Linked DNA regions of Homo sapiens: all the other regions are linked to region 1. The links are contacts of gene promoters, found by promoter capture Hi-C in blood cells and fetal thymus (Javierre and others, 2016). All regions are on one chromosome and are shown on one strand. Each heading gives the region's core, a stretch centred on a gene start or on the middle of the fragment in contact. The rest is flanking DNA. Distances are from core to core; before and after follow the strand shown. Region 1 holds the start of CHN1 (chimerin 1). Region 2 overlaps SCRN3 (secernin 3). Region 3 overlaps GPR155 (G protein-coupled receptor 155). Region 4 overlaps GPR155 (G protein-coupled receptor 155). Region 5 overlaps GPR155-DT (GPR155 divergent transcript).

Region 1 (2,611 bases), core at 49-2,548:
TATAGCATCTTAAACACTTGCCCATTCATGTTGAATCATTTTAATATTTCTTTCTTCCTGAGTTAACTGACTTGAAACAAAAGGCTTGGCTCCTCCTTCCAACCTGCTTTTCTTCTGATGCTTAAGTCTGCTTTGAAATAATGATGGTGAATTAACTGTGGTTCCATTGGAAGTACTGTAGTAATCTCCCACTTTATCAGGATTCGATCTCTAAGATACATTAAATACAAGATATTTCTATAATATTCTTAAAGAATTATTTGAAAATGGGAGAGAAGACACTAGGGAACCTGAGGAACTAAGAGGAAAGACGCCTGTAGAAAGAAAGGAGAACCAAAGAGAAGATCTACATGATCAGATACCAAAATAGTATCAAATCCCTAAGCAGAGAAACAAGAAAAAAGAAGGAATTTCTTAAACAGGGAACACATATAGCAACTAGAGAAGAATGACTTTTTGAATACATTAAACGACAACGACGAAAAACATATAACCCAGCTTTTCAAGAACATCTTTTGGCTGACAATCTCAAGGCGTTGTATGGCTCCTCATGGCAGAGACAGAGGTGAGGAGACAACATCACAGAAAGGAGGACGTTGCCAGTGATTATCAGATAAATACAAGAAGCTCAGGGGAACAATCTTTTGTGGCAAATAAGTGCCAGTCAGTGACACATGCTGATTTTTTTTTCCTTGAGACAATATCAAAGAGGTATAATGTAAAGGGAAGAAAATCAGGTGTAAGCATTGGTCTTTTAACAAATTATCTTAGGTAATCTCAGATGCTTTTTAAGCGACTCCTTTTCCTAATGTGTGTCAATTTCATCAGAACTACTAGCAGCTCCTAAGTCCAAACGGAGAGGAATGCAGCTTTCAGTGCCTCTGTTCCTACCAGAGCCCTGCAGCTTCAGGTCACCGGCTCCAGCCACAGTGAGCCTGGAGGGCGCCAGGAGAAGAAATATGTTCTCACACGCACCAGGTCCCCAGATGACCCTGCCTGGGCGCTGCGTTCACTCAGCATCCTCCTGTGACTCTTCCTCTTTCGAGTAACAGCGTTTTTCTCCTCTCTGCGCCTCCTCAAATTCCATTCAAGAAAAAACCTGGGCTTTCAGCTAAAACGCACACCGGCCCCGCTCCATCCCGCTCCGGGCGGCCGCCTCCAGGGGGGCGCTGGTGGCTCCTCGCAGCCGCGGGAATGAGGGCGCACCCTCTTACCCCCGCGCGCGCCCGTTGCCATGGGAACGCACTCGACCGGGAAGCCCGAGGGAGAGGCGGGAGGCAGCGGCGCGGCCGAGCTCGTGGGAGACGCTATCGCAAGATGGCGTCTGCGAGGCCGCGGGATGCGGAGTGAGCGCGCCCCGCCGGGGGCTGTGCGAGGCTGCTGCTGCTCTCCCCGTCGCCGCCGCCGCCGCCGCCAGTGCGGCGCCGCCTCTCCGCCAGCCACTGCGCCGCGGCCAAGCCTCCTGCCTCGCAGGTACCTCCTCCCGCGCGCACGCTCCGCGCCTGATGGCAGCGACAAGTGCCGGCTCGCGGAGAGCTAGCGGGGCTCCCTGGGCCCGGTGCGCCCGACAATAACGCGTGAATAACTTTTTCTTGCAGCGGTCCCCCGCGTCCCGGCCTGCAGCCTCCCCGGGCGCCGGCGCCCCCAGCACGCCCCATCGGGCACCCCACTCTCTCCGAGGTGTGGGTGCGGCGGGCTGATGAGGTGATCCCTAGCCCGCCTGGGAGGAGCGCCTGGACTCGCGGGCGGCGGCGAGCGCCTTTACAATGGCCCTGACCCTGTTTGGTAAGTGCAGCCGTCTCCCCGCGCCGCCGCAGGTGGGCCGCGTCCCGGGGCTCGGGGGCGGGGGCCTGGGGGGCCTGGGCGCCCGGGGAGGGGGCGCGGCGCGTGGGGTCGGGGCGGGCCGGGGCCGCAGAGTTGGGGCGCCCGGGGCGCCGGCTTGCTCCCTCGCGCCTCTCCCATTGTTTCCTCTCCCGGCAGGGCCGATGGGCGTGTGCTCCCCTGGCCAATTCTCGGCTGGGAGGCTCAGAGGTCCTGGGTGTTTTGCAAACGCACAAAGATTCTCTAAGATGCCAACTTGGGAGTGAAGTTAACTGGTTGTTTTCAAACCTGCCTTTCCCGTCGGTAAATAAATCCTTGGAAAGTTTATTTATTTTGAACGAGGTATCTGTGAGTCCCCAGCCTCCTTGGAATTGCCAAATGCATGTGTTGCTTCCTGTTGGACTATTGGGGAATTTTTTTTTTGGACTCAGTATATTCCGTTGGAAATAAGTATGATTTGTGAACTGAATATGGGTTAAAATTGAAAATGTTTGCACTAACGAATGAGAGCAGACAGAATAAAGTTGGTTACCAGAAGATAACTGTAATCTCAGGAGACTGAGTATTCATTAAGAATGAAATGTTATTTTTGTGGTGTAATTACTGCAGCACTGTTGCTTTTGGTGGTTAAGACTTCAAGCTGTTTTTTTCTCAGTCTGCAATGACAATGGGTTGGGAAAAAGGACTGAAAAGATACATTCTTTCCTTTTACAAAACGACTATGGTACATACGTACCTGACTTTAAGAAAACTCAATATGTGAACATTAGACGTTCAAAGTATTCAGCTT
Region 2 (2,611 bases), core at 68-2,567, 590 kb after region 1:
ATAGGAGTGCCCACCTCCTAAGACTACTCCTACCCTATGCTCCACCCTCAATCACCAACACCTTTTGGGTGAAGTTCTAAACCCAGGAAGGGAAGAGGATGAGTTGTCCTCTCAGACAAAGGAAGATGCAAATCATCCCTCTGGGATGGTTAGGTTATTATCTCAGAGTAGTTGATTCTTCTAAAATGGAAAACTACACTCTTTACCCTCAAATCTTCCATCTATCCTATCTCTACAAATGGCATTTCCAACTGTTCACTGGTTCCCAGCAGAAACCTGGTATTCATTTATGACATCTTTCTCTCTCTAACCTTCACTCTAATTAATTAAGTCCTGTCCATTCTGCCACCAAAGTATATGCCAAATCTGTCCACTTTGCTCCAACTCCATGCCACCACTGCTATTTCTGGGCTAGCTAACCTTTAAGAAAATTAGAGAAAGGAGCCTCTTCTTTGGGGCAGATAGTGGGGCTGGATTTCAGCCCTACTTACCCCCTTGTGCAGGGCATGATCTCCATAACCTTGCTTGGTGGCCCTGGACCCCAGACCAAGCCATCCTGTACTGTTGTAATCAATTCCTTAATGTTTTGGCCACACCCTCATAATAACTACCATATAATTTGTTTAATGAATACATGAGAAGCAAATATCAATCACTGATCCATCTCAGAGTAGTTGCTTTCTGACCGCTTTATAGAACCATTTACCAGCCAGGCACAATGGCTCGCACCTGTAATCTCAGCACTTTGATAGGCCAAGGTGGGCAGATGGTTTGAGCCCAGGAATTCGACACCACCCTGAACAACATGGTGAAACCCTAGCTCTACAAAAAATACAAAAATTAGCCTAGCATGGTAGTGCACACCTGGAATCCCAGCTATTTGGGAGGTTGAGGCACGAGAATAGCTTGAACCCAGGAGGCAGAGGTTGCAGTGAGCTGAGATTACGCCACTGCACTCCAGCCTGAGTATTGGATCGAGACATTGTCTCAAAAAAAATTTTTTTAATACAAACATTTTATCCTTCAAGTGAAGGAGGGTATATTAATCACATTTTTATTAGTAGCATGACCCTTTTAGCAATTATCTGCCACTCAGTAATCTAAATAAAGCTTACTTTGCTGGAATTATTTGGAAGCAAAAGGAGAAAATACATTGGAAGTTATTTTTTAAGAGTTAGTAATAACCCAACATGAAAATGGGAAAAGGATACATTAATAAACAACTCACAAAGCAATTACAAATTTTCAGTAAATGTAAGAATATATCTAATTTCACTAAAAAAAATATTAAAATTGTAACATGCCATTTTTTTTCTTATTTCTCTTTGTGGGTACATAGTAGGTGTATATATTTACATGCCATTTTGCCTACAAAATTTATAAAGGTTGAAAAAAAATCCTCTATTGATAAGCATGTTAGAAAATGGGTACTCAAATATTATTGGCAGTAATTTAAATTTATGTAACTTTTCTGGTGGTCATTTAACAATGTGTTTCAAAAACCTTCAAATGTACATAAGCTTTGACCTGACATTCTACTACAAACTCATTTTTAGAAAATAGTCATGGGGCTGGGTGCGGTGGCTTGGCTGGGTGCAGTGGCTCACGCCTATAATCCCAGCACTTTGGGAGGCCAAGGTGGGCGGCTCATTTGAGGTCAGTTAAGTTAGAGACCAGCCTGGCCAACACGGTGAAACCCATCTCTACAAAAAATAAAAAAATTAGCCAGGCGTGGTGGCAGGCACCTGTAATCCCAGCTACTTGGGAGGCTGAGGCAGGAGAATCGCTGGAATCCAGGAGGCAGAGGTTGCAGTGAGCTGAGATGGTGCCACTGCATTCCAGCCTGGGGGACACAGCAAGACTCTGTCTCAAAAAAAAAAAAAAAAGAAAATAGAAAAGAAAATAGTCATGGATATGAATATAAATAAGCTATAAGCATGTTATATAATTTCAATAATGAAAAACTAAAAATAACCCAAATAACAGGGATTTGATAGCTAAAGTATGATTCATACAATCAATCTTTATTATACAATGATTAAAATACTACCATAAGGGAATAACAAAATAATAGGATACTACATATCTGTTTTAAAAAATGAGAATGTTCTGTATATATTGAAACAGAATGATCTACATCATATATTGCTAACTGATCTACATCGTATATTGCTAACTAAAGTTATGTGGAGAAAAGTGTAAATAGCATGCTATCATTTCTGTAAAAAAAGAAAAATTACATATTTGTTTCATTAAGCATATATCATCTCTGGAAGAACACATAAGGAACTGCATATGGGAAAAAAAACTAAGTATCTCAGGACAGGGTAGGAAAGAGAGACTTCATTGTATAATCTTGTGTACTTTAGAATTTTGAATCATGTGAATATATTAATTTTTATAAGTAAAATAATATCATAGAATATTAAATGGCATGGGAAGGAGTTCTACTTTCAATGTGGCTAAGTGAGCTCCTATCAGGCCAATCCTCCCGCAGATAACTATCAACTTGGGACAAAATACAGAAAAACAACTACCTGAAGGCTCTTTACAATTAACAAATGAAGTAACATTCTGGAGGAAAGGTGAAAGTTGGGAGACAGAATGAAGC
Region 3 (2,611 bases), core at 69-2,568, 550 kb after region 1:
TAATTAGCATATCTATCACTTCAAAATGTATAATTTCTTTGTTGTAGGAACATACAAAATCCTCTCTTCTATTTTGAGATGTACAGTATCTTTGTTGACTATAGCCACCATACTGTATGATAGGGCACTAGAACTTATTCTAATGTAACTTTGTACCTGTTGACCCCATCCCTGCCACCCCCTACCTGCCCAAGTATCCGGTACCCACTACTCATCCTTCCTTCCTTTCCCTTCCTTCTCTTCCTTCCTTTCCCTTCCTTCCCTTCCTTCCTTTTCCTTCCTTTCTTTTCCTTCCTTTCCCTTCCTTCCCTTCCCTTCCTTCCCTTTCCTTCCCTTTCCTTCCTTTCCCTTCCTTCCTCTCCCTTCCTTCCTTTTCCTTCCTTCCCTTCCCTTTCTTCCCTTCCTTTCCTTTCCTTCCTTTCCCTTCCTTCCCTCCCTCCCTCCTTCCCTCCTTCCCTTCTTCCCTCCCTCCTTCCTTCCTTCCTTCCTTCTTTCCCCAGGCTGGAGCGTGACTGCTCCCTGTAATCTCAAACTCCTGGACTCAAGCAGTCCTCCCACCTCATCCTCCCAAGAAGCTGTACTATAGCCATATGCCAGCATGCCCAGCTATTTTTTAAAAAGCTTTTTGTAAAGACAGAGTCTTGCTGTATTACCCAGGCTGATCTTAGGTTCCTAGCCTCGGCTGGGCATGGTGGCTCACACTTGTAATCCCAGCACTTTGGGAGGCCGAGGCGGGCAGATCGCCTGAGGTCGGGAGTTCTAGACCAGCCTGGCCAGCATGGTGAAACCCTGTCTCTACTAAAAATTCAAAAATTAGCTGGGCCTGGTGGCAGGTGCCTGTAATCCCAGCTACTCGGAAGCTGAGGCGGGACAATCGCTTGAACCCAGGAGGCGGAGGTTGCAGTGAGCCGAGATTGCGCCACTGCACTCCAGCCTGGGCAACAGAGTGAGACTCCACCTCAAAAAACAAAAAAACAGAACAAAACAAAACAAAATCCTAGCCTTAAGTGATCCTGCCACCTCAGCCTCCTGAAGCAACAGGTGTAAGCTACCATGCCTGGCCACATTCAGTGCTTCTATGAGATTAAGTTTTTTTTATTTTGTATATGAGTGAGAACATTTGAATACTTTTGGATAGATACCATGTGAAAACTATTGAGGCTACATGGGAAGTGTGTGTGAGTGGATTTTGTTTTGTTTTCTTTGGCATTTCTTAAAATTGTCCATTTCTGTTGTGGTTGGGCTCTACTCTCACATACTATTTGATTGATATAGGTTGCTGCTCCTGCTCCATGGGAAATGGTGAATTACACTGCCCATCAATAGAGCCAATAGCAAACACAAGCACCAGTGAGCCTGTGATTCCTTCGTTTGAGAAAAGTAAGTGCCTCTGGACTATGAGGATGGGATTAAGGGACAGAAGATTCCTTATTCTTTTTTTTTTTTTTCTTTTTTTTGAGACGGAGTCTTGCTCTGTCACCCAGGCTGGAGTGCAGTGGCGCTATCTTGGCTCACTGCAAGCTGTGCCTCCCAGGTTCACGCCATTCTCCTGCCTCAGCCTCCTGAGTAGCTGGGACTACAGGCGCCCACCACCATGCCCAGCTAATTTTTTGTATTTTTAGTAGAGACGGAGTTTCACTGTGTTAGCCAGGATGGTCTCGATCTCCTGACCTCGTGATCTGCCTGCCTCGGCCTCCCAAAGTGCTGGGATTACAGGCGTGAGCTACCACACCCGGCCAGAAGATTCCTTATTCTTATCCCTCAAAAGAACTCTACATAGAATATCTATAGAAGTTACAAACATCAAGAATATAGATCCTCAATTAAGAGCAAAGAAGTGCTAATAGGGAATAATTGTGCATAGACAGAATACTCACTTTAAAAAATAAAGTTCTCACAAAGTGATAATAGGTAGTGTCATACACACATTTTCCAATAAATTTAACCCAAGTGACAAATCCAGGAAGTTTGCCCTAAAGGGCATTTTGGTGGGAGGTGGAGAGAGGGAAGCTTTTTTCTTGTTTTAGAAACAGACTTTTCCCCCATTCTCATCCCCTAGGACCAGGACTAATTAATTAGTTCTTAATTATATTTTGAATCTTTATGCTTTAAATATGGCCATTCTTATAAAATAAGGAACAAACACCTTTAAAAGTAATAACCTCTTGGCCAGACAAGGTGGCTCACGCCTGTAATCCCAGCACTTTGGGAGGCCGAGGCGGGTGGATCACAAGGTCAGGAGTTCGAGACCAGCCTGGCCAACATGGTGAAACCCCGTCTCTACTGAAAATACAAAAATTAGTTGGGTGTGGTGGTAATCCCACCCAACTGTAATCCCAGCTACTTGGGAGGCTGAGGCAGGAGAATTGCTTGAACACAGGAGGCGGAGGTTGCAGTGAGCCAAGATCACGCCACTGCACTGCAACCTAGGTGACAGAGCAAGACTCCATCTAGGGGGAAAAAAAAAGTAATAACCTTTTGACTAAGAGGCTGAATTACATTTGTGGCCTAAATTTCAAATTATTCAAAACAACCGAACATACTTATGTGGAATTGCAGTGCATTTTTCGTTGATTATACTTATTTATAATCAAACTAAAAAGGGAAACCC
Region 4 (2,611 bases), core at 76-2,575, 530 kb after region 1:
GCGGGATCTCGGCTCACTGCAAGCTCCGCCTCCCGGGTTCACGCCATTCTCCCGCCTCAGCCTCCCAAGTAGCTGGGACTACAGGCGCCCGCCACTACGCCCGGCTAATTTTTTGTATTTTTAGTAGAGACGGGGTTTCACCATTTTAGCCGGGATGGTCTCGATCTCCTGACCTCGTGATCCGCCCGCCTCGGCCTCCCAAAGTGCTGGGATTACAGGCGTGAGCCACCGCGCCCGGCCGAGAAACCTAATCTTTTACATGTTTTCACGTTTGCCTCTCTCCTTGTGAACGACTGTGGCTGTTCTTTTTTATCTTTCTCAACTTCAAATCAATTATAAATCAGCCTTTATTTGCATTAGATTGTATAATTTCGGGACCCATTGTCAAAAATGTGCTAGAGACCAGTTGTTTACTGAAAGGCCCTAAGTTGCTCTAATAAACTAAAGACTAGGTCACCAACCCTCACGTCTACCAGGAAACTGCTAGAAGTCTGATCCCACTCACTCACCTCCCTCATGAGATTAAAAAAACACATCTTATGCAGTGGTTAAGTCCTAAAGTCATCTTGTATATTCAAACTCTTGAAAATGCCCACCAAATACAGCACACATACTTTGTCTATATTGTACCATTTTTCATAAGTCTAACACAGCCAGATTTTTTTAGCTAGCATTGTTCTTCAATGAACAGCAGTTGAAATAATTTGTTTGCACTTGGAAACATGCTATGGGGGGTGGGGGGAAATGAAGCTTTTGTTTTCCCAAGAGGGTATGGTTGAATTTGTGTTAACTAAATGTGCATTGATGTGACTCTACTGTATTTCCCTCCCAAACATTGTAAGATCCACCTTTCTATCTCTACTCCTTAAGTATCTCCACTGGTCTTCTTTGAAGGCATTCATTCCTTTTCATTCCTCTCAAATGGAGGTTGTTCATTTTCCCATTGCCAGCACACCACATGAGCAGTGGAAGGTAGGACTGGCATCCCCACAGCTACTGTGGACCATTGCTAGACCATCCCTCTGCTCTGCTGTTAAAAACTGCTTTGAGGTTCATACTTTCCGGCTAGACCACTGATCCTCTCTGCTGTTACCTGCTGACCTCATTCTAGGCATTCCCTCTCATTTACCTTTATCCCAAGTTTTGTCATTGTCTTGTGAACTACCATGAAATTCTCTGCCCTGTCATTTCCTTGACCTCCTCTTCTCCAGTGATGTTTTCCTTTACTCCATTTCAGCCACTAAGTCCCATAGCCACATCCTGGACCTTGTCATCTGGAAAATATTTAACTGAGTAGCTCATTAGCTGTTTTACTCTGAACTCCCGCACTTCCAACTGTCCCTAATTCCTAGAGGCCTCCAAACATCTCCCATCTTCATTTCTTTTCTTACACAGCTTGGATTCCACATCCGTGCTCCTTTTTAGTTCCTGAAATAACTCCTACTCTCTCCTCAACCCTCTGTGATCTGACTTCTGTCTCTTACCACTCCAGTAAAACTGTTCTTTCCATGGATACCAATAAACACATTTTTGCTATTACTACTTAAATGTTTAGTTTGTCCCTAGATTTTTACTTTGAATTGTTTCTTCTAAAAATTCTACAATTCTGCTCATTTTTGGAGACTAATTTTAACCCTTAGATGGTAAAAATTAGTGAGGTTTAAAAATAATGTGTAAACTTGGTTATCATTTTATAAGCTATATGATATTTATTATGTTTTTCTTTTTTCAGCTTTATTACTAAAATGTACTTTTCCAAAATAGGCTATTTGGGTCATTTTGAAAATTTTAGATTTATCATTGCTATAAAGTACAGAAAATGTTATATACATAACATATATCTGTATTTCTGTGGTCATCATTTAAAAATCAATATTCTTGTTTTGCAGTTGAAGCTTTATATCAAACTACATACCCAGAATATCTCCAGTACATTTATTTGGTGGCACCAATATCTCTTATGATGTTAAACCCTATAGGGTTTATTTTCTGTGAAATCCAAAAGTGGAAAGACACTCAAAATGCTTCTCAAAATAAAATAAAAATTGTGGGACTCGGACTCCTGCGTGTATTACAGAACCCAATAGTATTTATGGTCTTCATTGGCATCGCCTTCAATTTTATTCTTGATCGAAAGGTACCTGTATATGTCGAAAATTTTCTTGATGGACTTGGAAATTCTTTTTCTGGATCAGCCCTATTTTATCTTGGTCTCACGATGGTGGGAAAAATAAAGAGACTGAAGAAGTCGGCATTTGTAGTACTAATTCTTCTCATCACAGCTAAACTGTAAGCATCACTTATTTAACTTGAGAATTGTACTTTTTGAAAGCCGTATTTAGCCAATTCATCAGGGGTATGTCTGCAACCATTTTCCCCTTTGAATATTAATAACCCCTCCTTGTAGAATAGTTGTGAGATAAAGGAAAATGTGATGGTGTATTGTGGAAAGTCATTTCCTTATTCCCAGTAGCTTATTCTTTCCATCTTACTGTCAGAGGATAAAGATGATGGGTTTCCCTTCAGCTTTTACATAAAGTTTACTCAGTATCTCCTCATGTCCCAGTTTGACAGTATTTTCAAATAAATTTTGCAGCATTTCTGACTTTTC
Region 5 (2,611 bases), core at 76-2,575, 510 kb after region 1:
TAGAAAGTGCTCTGCACAGTTAAAATATTATTTCTTTAAAGGCTGCCTATTAAATAAATTTGTTAGTGAGCCCACTTTTAAATGAACAATTCAGAAGTAGGAACAAGTGTATTTTTTTGTTTTTCATCTTCATGTTCCTGATCTCTAACTCCTTTCAAAAAAAAAGTGGTCAAAACAAAACCACAAGTATCAAGAAGCTAAGTCTTGAAACAGACTGGTGCGGCCCCCAAAGTTACCATGCTTCTATTGTATGATTTCTGCAGCCTATCTTACGTAAGTCATCGATTTAACTTTCAGTTTCATAAGCTAGTTCTGGTTTCATTGTTTTTCTGCTTAACATTTTTTTTTTTTAGACAGAGTCTTGCTCTGTGGCCCCCGAGCTGGAGTGCAGTGGCATGATCTGGGCTCACCACAACCTCCGTGTCCCAAGTTGAAGCAGTTCTCCTGCCTCAGCCTCCCCAGTACCTGGGATTATAGGCGCGTTCCACTGCACCTGGCTAATTTTTGTATTTTTAGTAGAGACAGGGTTTTACCATGTTGGCCAGGCTGGTCTTGAACTCCTGACCTCAGTGATCCGTCTGCCTTGGCCTCCCAAAGTGCTGGGATTACAGGCGTGAGCCACCGCGCCCGGCCTCTGCTTAACTTCTTAAGTGCTGGCCTAGACAAAAGCCTCTGCCCATTTAATCACATTTGAGCCTTTCTTGGGGTCAATAACAAGATCAATAGCCACGTGAGATGTTTAGGTTCCACTTTATTGCTTTTGTGAGAATATTTCAGTAGCAGATCGAAAGAAAAAAAAAGCTATCGTATATTTATGCACACATAAACATATATATGTATATTAAAAGATAATACTCAGGGTTTTAACTTGACAGATCAGAAATAATTATTTAATTCTAGCATTTACAATCACAAAAAGGAGTCAACAATTTGGCGGAATATTTATTTATTTATTTATTTGAGATGAAGTCTTGCTCTGTCGCCCAGACTGGAGTGCAGTGGCGTGATCTTGGCTCACTGCAACCTTCGCCTCCCCGGTTCAAGCAATTCGCCTGCCTCAGCCTCTCAAGTAGCTGGGATTACAGGCACGCGCCATCACACCCAGCTAATTTTTGCATTTTTAGTGGAGACAGGGTTTCACCCTGTTGGCCAGCCTGGCTTCACATGATCTGTCCACCTCAGCCTTCCAAAGTGCTGGGATTATAGGTGTGAGCCACTGTGTCTAGCCAGGGGGAATATTTAAATAAAGCTATAAAACTTGGCCAAGTGAAAAGCTGGAAACAAGAAATCCAGTTACTGTAAAAGATCTATGTCACAGTTGCTTGTATCAAATACTTCCCATAGTTACAATCCAACTTCCTAGATAGCTGATAGGCAATTATGTTTTATTAAATCATTCAAAAACCATTTACAGAATGCCTGCCATATGTCAGGGAAAGCACTATTCTAAATGCTGAGAATACAAAGATCAACAAAAGCAAGGCCTTTGTCTTCTCTAAGGTCATAGGCTGCATCATATCCATGCTCTTAAATCATTCTATTTTATGGGTGGATTTCATATATATTCCTGGTTTAATAAACGATCATCGTTTTAAAATTTGTTTTAGAAGATTTTCATATAGCCAAAATACATACTTTGTATATTAATTTTATCAAGAAAAAGGGAAACTTTTCTGCACAGAAAAAAAAAATTTAAATCATGTGTATTCTTACCACTCAGAGATAATTACTGTTGCATTTTCCTTTAGCATTTTTCCTATGCATTTGATTTTAAGTAATAGAAAACCCAACTCAAACTTGTTTAAACAATGAAGAAAACTGATTGGTACACATCAATGAAGAGTCCACAGGCCAACCGGTGAGGCTGCTTTAGGTGGGGCTTGACCCCACAACTCAATATGTCATCAAGGTCCCTGTTTATTTCCTTCTCTCTGCTGTGGCTACCTTGGTCTCTGCACCATTCTAAGACTGGCTTCTCTTATGGTTCTAAAATGGCTGTCGGCATCTTCCTCTTGTCTAGCAAGAAAGAGAAGATCAGCATTCTCTGCAAAAGTCCTGAAAATTATTCAGCTGAGCTACTTCAGGATCAGTGCCTACCCTGACTAATCATTAAGTGCAAAGGGATGAAATACACTGATTGGACAGCCTACATTAGTTACATCATCTCTGAAGGGAGAGTGAAGTCAACTTCTCTGGAAACATGAATCCCTAAAGAGAAAATGATGCTATTGGGAAGGGGAAGGGGAGTTTTAAAGAAACTAAAAGTTTTTAAACAAAATCTGGCATCGTACTAGACATGTTCAAACAGCACATTTTAAGTCACTCTCTTTTATTTTTCTATGCTTTACTCAACTTTGATTAGACTTTATAGATGGCCCAGTTTCCACTTTTTCGAAGAAGATCATCCTCAAAATTTCGCTAGGGAGTATTTAATAGGCATTAAAAATGATATAAATCTATCTATATGAATAAATTGTTTATGGATTAAAAAGGTATTACTAAATGAGAAGTGACTAAAATCATGTGTATGAAAATCATATGTATAATCCTATTTTTCTTAAATAATCTATATTTGCATAAAATGATACATATATGGTATAATATTAAAGAA

The links. Contacts are between HindIII fragments. The CHiCAGO score rates a contact against its expected background, and 5 or more counts as called.
Region 2: a contact is called between a fragment that was not itself captured here and the fragment with the promoter of CHN1 in region 1, in 1 of 17 cell types (total CD4 T cells). The highest score is 5.7, in total CD4 T cells.
Region 3: a contact is called between a fragment that was not itself captured here and the fragment with the promoter of CHN1 in region 1, in 2 of 17 cell types (total CD4 T cells and naive CD8 T cells). The highest score is 5.9, in total CD4 T cells.
Region 4: a contact is called between a fragment that was not itself captured here and the fragment with the promoter of CHN1 in region 1, in 1 of 17 cell types (activated CD4 T cells). The highest score is 7.3, in activated CD4 T cells.
Region 5: a fragment that was not itself captured here is called in contact with the fragment with the promoter of CHN1 in region 1 in 1 of 17 cell types (naive CD4 T cells); the score reaches 5.4 in naive CD4 T cells.

What each region holds. Positions count from the first base shown.
Region 1 is chr2:175,004,068-175,006,678 of GRCh38, reverse strand. CHN1 (chimerin 1) reads left to right here and starts at 1,298. Exons shown (of 13, transcript NM_001822.7): 1 at 1,298-1,785. The coding sequence starts at 1,767. RefSeq lists a silencer at 1,538-1,597 and an enhancer at 1,582-2,128. The HindIII fragment of the contact is 4,598 bases long and covers 1-2,611 here.
Region 2 is chr2:174,414,041-174,416,651 of GRCh38, reverse strand. The region is part of intron 5 of SCRN3 (secernin 3); the gene reads right to left. Among named protein-coding and RNA genes, the nearest start is that of SCRN3, 20 kb to the right of the region's middle. The HindIII fragment of the contact is 410 bases long and covers 1,113-1,522 here.
Region 3 is chr2:174,452,506-174,455,116 of GRCh38, reverse strand. GPR155 (G protein-coupled receptor 155) reads left to right here. Exons shown (of 16, transcript NM_152529.7): 11 at 1,276-1,380. Among named protein-coding and RNA genes, the nearest start is that of GPR155, 33 kb to the left of the region's middle. The HindIII fragment of the contact is 1,389 bases long and covers 624-2,012 here.
Region 4 is chr2:174,472,643-174,475,253 of GRCh38, reverse strand. GPR155 (G protein-coupled receptor 155) reads left to right here. Exons shown (of 16, transcript NM_152529.7): 3 at 1,890-2,289. Among named protein-coding and RNA genes, the nearest start is that of GPR155, 13 kb to the left of the region's middle. The HindIII fragment of the contact is 1,145 bases long and covers 753-1,897 here.
Region 5 is chr2:174,490,926-174,493,536 of GRCh38, reverse strand. It overlaps GPR155-DT (GPR155 divergent transcript), which reads right to left. Exons shown (of 3, transcript NR_183819.1): 3 at 735-2,611. Among named protein-coding and RNA genes, the nearest start is that of GPR155-DT, 4.8 kb to the right of the region's middle. The HindIII fragment of the contact is 4,676 bases long and covers 1-2,611 here.